Regions from separate parts of the Homo sapiens genome. Here region 2 is linked to region 1. The links are contacts of gene promoters, found by promoter capture Hi-C in blood cells and fetal thymus (Javierre and others, 2016). All regions are on one chromosome and are shown on one strand. Each heading gives the region's core, a stretch centred on a gene start or on the middle of the fragment in contact. The rest is flanking DNA. Distances are from core to core; before and after follow the strand shown. Region 1 holds the start of BCL10 (BCL10 immune signaling adaptor). Region 2 overlaps GNG5 (G protein subunit gamma 5).

Region 1 (4,106 bases), core at 1,514-4,013:
TCCCTACTATACTTGGGGGGAAAAAAACCCCAGATACTTTACTAAAAGGCTCTTCATGAAAATGGCTCTAGCCCACCTTCCTAACTTCACTTCAGATTACCCTCTGCCTTCCTCCGATTTCCCCAAGTCACCAGGGTCTTGCCTATTTTAGGTCCTTGACAAATTCTATTCTGCCCAGAATGCTCTTCCCTCAGTTCTGTCAAATCTTTCAGGAATCAGTTTAAATATAACCTCTCCTGACCATCCTATCTCAAGTCGATTTCCCCTATTATTGTCTTGGCACTGTTTGATTCCTTCATAGTAATTGCAATAATGAAAACAAAATTTATTTATTTGTTTTAAACTAACGTCTCTGTTTGAAGCAGGCAGCTACGAGGTATGTTTTAGCCAACACTGTATATCCTGCACTTACTAGGGCACCAAGTAGTTAATGTTTCAGTTGAATGCAAAACTCACTGCACTTATTTTGTGATTTAAAACAATCCCCCTCAAGAAATTGAGCTCTTTTCAAGTTAGGATTGTGTTTTCATTTTTAATTTTTGAACTGTTAGAACCAACCACAGTATCAGCCTCACAGTAGCATGTAATCCATATTTATTAAACTGTACTAAATCCAACTAACACAATGAGGCAAATAACTAGATAGGAGGAGGGGGAGACACTAAAGAAGTGGGAGGTCCCAAGACAAAGGGTGGTAGCACACCATTCATCAAGAAAGGCAATACAGCAGCAACAGTAAGCAACTTTGGGAAAAGGATAGTAAAAGTTCAATATTTGACAAGGTGAGCAATCTGTAGGATATAAAAGTAGATTTCCAGTAGACATTTGGAAATAAGGACCTAGAGTGGAGAGAAAAGTCCAAATATGTGGATAATTTTAAAACTCTCTAAGATCAGAAGACATTTTGAAAATATCATGAAAAAAACCTCTAAGAAAAAAGCATGCACATAGTTTCTTTCATAGACCTTTTGAAACCCATCCATGGTTTCCTCAAGGTTATTTATTTCTGATATAGGCGTAAAATGAAATCCTGAAGACAGATAACATCAATGAATTGACAGAGAAGAACAAAGACCTGGAAGCCACTCTTCACATCTGTACTTGTATACAGATCTTATTTCCTTCCACTTGTAATTTCTCAGTTCCTGTTTTATTAGCTGTAAAATGGGAATGGCAATTATCTTCTTTAGAGGTTGTTGCGAAGGTTAAGTGGGAACATTGTAAACTGTGTGACACAGCATCTGGAACATAGGAGGCCTAGCTCTTGGAAGTTCAAGGTTTTACTGGCACTCACCATGAATAAGACAACATTTATTCTACAGTAGTTATTTATGTTCCATTCTTATCTCAACTAGAATGTAAAGCAGGAAACTGATCTTCATTTTTTTGTATCCTTCCAGACCCAAGGCCAGTGCTTTCCATATAGCAAGTGCTCCATAAATCTCTGTTGAATGAGGAAACTAAGCACAACTCCCAGTCATATCCAGTTTCCTTCTGCTGGTGAGTCACACCAATTGTGAGTACAGTGTAATAAACCTTACAGGGAAGAGGAAGGGATTTGAAGTGGATGAACATTTAAAAAGTTGCCATCCTGTCCAGTTCATCAAAATGACTTTGTAAAAGTACTGCAGTGTTCAATAAGAACACGTTTCATGTTGAGTTTCTGTTTTTCATTTGACTTCAGATAAAGTATTTTAGTGATACTCATATAGGTCTCATCTGACAAAACAAGTAAACGCAAAGGAAAAAGAATGTCATATCTCAACAAAGCCATTCGTTACGAATAAATATGAAGGTTTATGTGGTTCTGCACCATCCGAGAAGAGCATAATTTAGCTACTGAATATTTTCGACGTTTACCTGTACATTAATTCTCAGCTACGTGTATTCACTCCCCCAACCCCAATTTAAATATGTGGGCGTCTGCTTACTAGGGGAATTCCAGGTTGTGCTTTCAGCTGTTGAGCTTCCTCAAGCCCCCTTATGCAAAAGAGCTTCACATTTTTGGTCCACTGCTTGGGATCCTTCACCTGGTACAGCCTTCGCTCTAGGCTGAGTGAGCAGCCTAGGCAGCCTGACTTAAGGATGAATCTGAGCCGCCAGTCCCTAACGAAGCATCTCCAAGAACCCAGTTGGGGGGAAAGCATGAGGAGATGGGTGAGGAGTGGGCAAGAATCAAAACACCACTTGGCAACAAAGCCCAAGCTCTGCGTTTAGCGATGTAAAACCTGGATTGACAGATCACTGGAGGATCACTGCCACCAAGGTCCCTCGGATGCAGGGCTCGCCACAGTCCTCCTGTGCTAGGACTTTCCGCTCCTCCGACCTGGAGGATCCTCCTTGTCCTCGGACTCCAGGCTTCCGCTTTCGTCTCCCGCTGGGCTGCAGCCCGCCCCCGCCCGCCCTGGGCACAGCTGCGTTACTCACGTCCTTCTTCACTTCAGTGAGGTCCTCCTCGGTGAGGGACGGTGCGGTGGGCTCCATGGTGGAGGCGGGAGATGGCGCTTCTTCCGGGTCCGGGAGCTCGGGCTGCGCCGCCCCGCCCTGGCTGGGGGCTTCGGCCTCCGGGTAATGGGGAAGAAGGAGAGGAGGCGGAGCGGGTCGGGAGAAAGACGGCCGCCCCTTCGGGAACAGAGGGACTCGGGGGTCAAACCGTAGCGCTTCCGGCCCCGCCTCTGAGGTCGACGGCGACGCGAATCTACGCGACGCGACGCGGAGCTCGGAGCAGCGTTCCTTCCCTCTCGTAGAGGCTCAGGCGCAGGCACCGCCCCACGGCGAGGCGCGTCGCTTAGCAGAGCCCGCCCTGTCTCTGCGGCAGCCTATCGACGCCAGCCCGCGGGCCGATCCTGTTCCCGCCCCCGACCGGAGCCTTTCGGGTGGCTCCGCCCACAGCGGGCGTTTCCTCAAGCCACGCCTGCGCAGGTCGTCGGTAAGTGGCCCGGGTTAGCTTCCTCATAAGGCATCGTTTCCGTGGGTGGGGTCCGTCAGTGCCCAGGCAGCTGGCACTCTCAGCCTTTGCTGCCTGCTCACTTCGGGGGAGTCCGGTCTGGGCTTGTCAGTACCTTGGGTTCCTCCCCTTTTCCCAGACCCTGCCCTACAATTTCCTGTTGTTACGTTTGCCAGTTACTGTTTTGGTCACACACAAACGCACTCATACACACATACACATGCATACACACAAACAGCCTAACTACAATACTAAACAAATTTTTGAAAGAAAAAAAGAAACCACCTACAATCCCACCACTTTAACACCTCATTTAACGTTTGCATACTTTTTGGTCACTGTTCATTATAAACATAGCTTTTCCTCATTAGTTAATCTGTGTAATGGAGATAGATATGCTTACCTTTTAGGGCTGCCGGGATCATATGTAAAGTTCTTAAAGGTAGTTGGGCACACAGTATGCACTCAACTGATTATTTATTTATTTATTGAGACAGGATCTCACTCTGTCGCCCAGGCTGGAGTGCAGTGGTGCGATTCTCGGCTCACTGCAGCTTCCACCTCCAGGGCTCAGGCGATCCTTCCACCTCAGCCACCAAGCAGCTGGGAGTCCAGCTAGTTTTTTTGTATTTTTTATAGAGATGGAGTTTCGCCATGTTGCCCAGGCTGGTCTCAAACTCCTGGGCTCAAGCCATCCACCCGCCTCGGCTTCCCAAAGTGCAGGGACTACAGGCATGAGCCACCCAGCTCATCCTACTCAAACATTTATTGAGTCCTTACTAATATGTTCTAGGCAACTTATACTATGAGTCCTCCATTTTATAGGGGGAGACTGATGAAGAGACGACTATCCCCAGACCGTATTTTAACTACTATGGCGCTGTGTAAGAAGCAACCTGAGAAGTGTGGATGAAAAGCTACAGGTAGAGCCCTGGGCCCAAGACGGTGGCTTGGACAACATGCTAAATAAACTATAAACTAGATGGTATTTGAAGCTACGAGAGTAGATAAAAATGACAGGAGGACCAAGGAGAAACTTGGGAACGCCAATGTTTAAGAAACGGGAAAGCAAAAAAAAAAAAAAACACACACAAAAAAACAATGTAACCAGAGCCACAAAAACCAGAATCACAGCAAGGGATTCTGATGTTTACATTAT
Region 2 (4,460 bases), core at 1,476-3,975, 780 kb before region 1:
TAACCCTTGATTTTTATACCAGATTAACCTTGGATTCCCAGTGTCTGGCACAGTTTTAATAGCTTAAATGGAGGCCAGGTTTCTGGATGTTTTAACATTCTCTTAAGCCTTCAGAAGGGTAAAAAATTTAAAGCAAAATGATCTACCAGGGTTTAAAGCAAAGTTGCAAATTACTGAAGCTAATCTTTGCTTCCTGATTTTGAGGTTTTTGGTTTTTTGTGCCCACGTTGTGGGGAGCTCTTTTTTACCTCATTACATGGTGCTGTAGTACTCCATTCAGGCACTGAAACAAAGTTAACCCTATAAGTAACTCATGGATGGAAACCCGTAGAACTTAACAGCCTCCTCCTGACCTTAAAAGAATAAAGGTTCACAGTTTACCTTTAATTCCCTAGCAGTCTTGCCAGATGTATGGCATAAAGTCATGTGAGAAGAGTAGGTGGAAAAAACTGTACAAACTTAACCCCTTCAGGTGTTCAGAACAGATTAATATACCATGTATTTAATACCAATAATAATGCAAAATAAAAGTTTCATACTAAGTTTTATTGTATGCTGCTGCCAGTGTATATAAAACAATTACCCTTGTGAAATAGAAATTCATGAAAATTCAGAGAGGTAGATGTTAAGGACTGACGAAAGTAGAAGTTTGTATATTATGGCACATGTGTTACAGGGATAAGCTTTTGTACAGGCTTCAAATGTAGCTCTCTTGAATATTCACTGGATCATAAGGAGTGGTTTGGGAAACCTAAGATGGGGAAAAAAAAAAAAAGGTGAGTTAGGGTAAAGTATCAAAGAACATAGTTTTTAATTTTTTTCATGAATAACTTAAAAGAAGCAGGATGGGAAATGCCTATGGTCCAGTAACAGTAAAATCTTTCCCTTAATTTTCACAACCACTCTGATGTATAAGTCATTCCTGTTTTATAAACAGACTTACAGATTAACTTGCTAAGATTACTGCCAAAATACATTCTGTATATAATAAAAAAGGTTAATAAAACTCTCTTAAATCAAAAATCCAAACATCCTTAGAAAAATGAGCAAGACTATATTTAGCAGGGCAGTTTGGCAGTATCTAGTGAAGTAAAGGATGCAACCACACTTCTAGTTACCTAGATAAACCCAGACATAGAGAAACATGTACAAGGATACTGACTGTATTAGTATTTTAACAGCAAAGAACTGAAACAGCCTAAATATAACTCCGTAGGAGAATGGATAAACGAAGGTTTCTACATATGATGGAATACAAAGCTATTATAAGTTATGCCTTAAAAAATAAGTTATGTTTTCAAACCATAATATTTCAGTTTAATAGAGTATAAACTAAAAGATTTAAAAAATGAAAACATTAAATTGAAAAACAGTGTACTAAAAAATTAAAACATGAGCATACTAACTTTAGGATTAGTTATTGATATGGAAAGGTACAAAAGTGTTAATCTGAGATAGTCTGTGACAAAAATGTTGAAAAGGCATAAACAGAATGCTGTGAAAAATGTTTAATCTCACCTAAAATAGTGACAGAAAAGACTAAGGTTTGTTAGGACTCAAGGAAAAAACATTCTCATGTTTCTAGTGGAAGGCCAAAGTATTATATTGGCAGGGGATATCAAGTACAACGTTGTAAAAATGTTAAACGTTCACTCCTTTTTACTTCTAGAAACTTAATAGAGGTACTAAGTATATATAGATGTTCACCAAAATCTTCACCTCACTGTAACCTCAAATTTTGGAAACTTAAATATTCAGTGAAGTATAATTCCATCATAGTTTAGTACAACCATTAAATATCTTGTTTACAAAGAGTATTTAATGAAATAAATTCATTTAAAAAAGGCAGAATGAAAAACGGCGAATACTGTCAATAAGCCTGTCGTCTTATCTGCATTTTTTTGTGCATACATGTTCTACTGATTAACAGTTTTTAATCCTGTGTTATTCTATTTTGTTTTGTGTAAAAGAGGAAAAATTTCAAAAGCTGGAATCTCAAAAAAAATAGTAAAATTTCCTCTTAAAAGGAAATACAGGGCCGGGCACGGTGGCTCACGCCTGTAATCTCAGCATTTTGGGAGGCTGAGGTGGGCAGATCACCTGAGGTCAGGCGTTCGAGAAACGCTGTCTCTACCAAAAATACAAAAAGTAGCCGGGCGTGGTGGTGTGCACCTGTAATCCCAGCTACTCAGGAAGCTGAGGCAGGAGCACTTGAACCTTGGAGGCAGAGGTTGCAGTGAGCCGAGACTGCGCCACTGCACTCCAGTGATAAAACTGTATTTATATACATAACTCCAATGTAGATTCTTTACATTCATGCCACTCAGTGTAGGTCCAGTACTGTCAGCATCAGTGTAGGTGGGCAGTTGTAAGAAATGCAAGTTCTAGGGACTCACCTCAGACCTTCTGAATTAGAATTTGCATTTTAACAAAGTGATTTGCATATATTCAAGCTTGAGAAGCAATGCTTTGATGCCCAATTATTATTCTCCTAGCCCAAACTGCTGCAAATCTTAATATCCACAAAGCTGTTTTCTTATACTGCTGGGATTAATAGACATTATTTTACCTTCTGGGTTCTTACCCCCAGCCATATTTTTAAACTTGAGCAATTCATTTAAACACTTATCTGTAGATTCCTATGAAGTAAAACTATTAACAGCTGCCCAGTATTTTATTCAAATGAAAATAAACCACTGTAAAGTGAATACAAGAACTGAGGTTAAAAAAACAATCATTAATAAACCATAAAAATATGAAACTTCCAAAAACTACCATGAAGAATTAAATGAATAGTACCAGAAACAAAGGATATTATAATAAACTGTTAAATATGAAAGTGAATTACTTCTTCATGTGCATTTTTGTGCACATGACACCTGTTTTCAAAGGGCTTTTTTTCCCCCTGGTATTTCAAAAAACTTAAACATCTTAACCAATCATTGTATTTACTGGAAACATGTACTTATACAGACTTCCTGGACACTCCCAGGTCTAGGAAGCTTAATTAAGGAGGGCACAACTATGTAACAAGGTATTTTAGGAAGCAGCTTCCTGGACTTTGGAGAAGTCAGAAAGTTAGTAAGGGGTGTGTGCCATATACAAAATCTTTTTTAAAAAAGTACTATTAGTTTAAGTTTGCTTCTCATAGGTCAATACTAATGAGTACATTCCCTAACTAAAGTACTAAGAATTTATAAAAGGCAGCACCCTTCAGTTACATTTTAAATGATCCAAAACGTTTTTGGTCACATCTCTTAGATTAACATACATTTTGTACACATGACATTTGATCTGGAAGGCACAAATTAATGTACTGAAGCATGCTTTAATAAAGCCAACAGGGTCTTTAGTTTTTAATTCTCTGAAATTCAGTCCACTGTCTGTTTGCCACCAAGAACTTATATACTGCATTTCCTTCATGTTTTATCTTTAATCTAACAAATGAGAACAAAATATAAAGTCTGTTCTACCTCAGTCCAAACGCCTCTACCACACTGGCTTACTCAATTACATCTGACTTTCTCTTGCATTTCCAATTCCCAATCTTTGCTATACTGCTCTACAGCTGGGTTCAGTTAGAGCAATAACATCAAGAGTTAATCCAAATCAGTTGGTAGTACTTTAAGTTATCCCCATAAACATTGCAGATTTTTTAAAAACTGTCTAAATATTTGCCAGGTACACAAAAACAAAACTAGTACTTGGGGACTCCATTAGGCCAATGCTCTAAAAAGTAACACATGGCTTGTTACGGCAGTGGGATTTTGTAGTAACTCTCCTATACCCTCTTTATGGTTATTAAATCCTCTACTTAACCTTCTTTATGGTAAAATAGAAACGATTAGCCTTCATGGCTACTAAGTCAGCAAGTTTCATGAATCCTCACTTTCCTTGCAAAACAGAAAAATACTGGAAATGGAGGGCCAAAGGAAAGGGCATGGGATGATCTTTTAAGTGCTGCAAAGAAAGAGAAGACTAGTTATTCCTACAGTGTGGGTTTTTGTTTTAAATTTAAGGAAACTTACCTTTGAAAGATTCATTTTACTACAAAAAGGAACAGACTTTCTGGGGTCTGAAGGGATTTGTACTTGAAGATACTCCAGTCAGCAGAGGGTCATGTTGAGCATTCTGCAGACAGAACTGTTTCAAGTCTGCAGCTGCCTGGGAAACCTATACATAACAAAGAGGGGGGGAAGTGCCAGATGGTGAGAACATTTTAATGAAGGTTTTCTCAATCTTTGGAAATATTGTACTTACAATAAAACAGTACTTCTCTTGCTTCAAAAGAAGATACTATATAATAATTGAAGACTTAAGTCAAATAGTGAGCTCTTTTTTTTTTTTTTTTTTTTTTTGAGACGGAGTCTCACTCTGTTGCCAGGCTGGAGTACAGTGGTGCGATCTCGGCTCACTGCAACCTCCGCCTCGGTTCAAGCGATTCTCCTGCCTCAGCCTCC

Evidence for each region. The method cuts DNA at HindIII sites, captures the fragments that hold promoters and counts their contacts. A CHiCAGO score of 5 or more calls a contact.
Region 2: a fragment that was not itself captured here is called in contact with the fragment with the promoter of BCL10 in region 1 in 1 of 17 cell types (monocytes); the score reaches 6.4 in monocytes.

The regions. Positions count from the first base shown.
Region 1 is chr1:85,273,869-85,277,974 of GRCh38, forward strand. It overlaps BCL10 (BCL10 immune signaling adaptor), which reads right to left and starts at 2,764. Exons shown (of 3, transcript NM_003921.5): 1 at 2,428-2,764. The coding sequence starts at 2,484. It overlaps BCL10-AS1 (BCL10 antisense RNA 1), which reads left to right and starts at 2,490. Exons shown (of 2, transcript NR_045484.1): 1 at 2,490-2,929; 2 at 3,773-4,106. RefSeq lists enhancers at 1,957-3,156, 2,362-3,064. The HindIII fragment of the contact is 19,185 bases long and covers 1-4,106 here.
Region 2 is chr1:84,497,798-84,502,257 of GRCh38, forward strand. GNG5 (G protein subunit gamma 5) reads right to left here. Exons shown (of 4, transcript NM_005274.3): 3 at 4,029-4,173; 4 at 528-751. The coding sequence ends at 4,048. It overlaps RPF1 (ribosome production factor 1 homolog), which reads left to right. Exons shown (of 9, transcript NM_025065.7): 9 at 1-555. Among named protein-coding and RNA genes, the nearest start is that of SPATA1, 6.4 kb to the right of the region's middle. The HindIII fragment of the contact is 549 bases long and covers 2,452-3,000 here.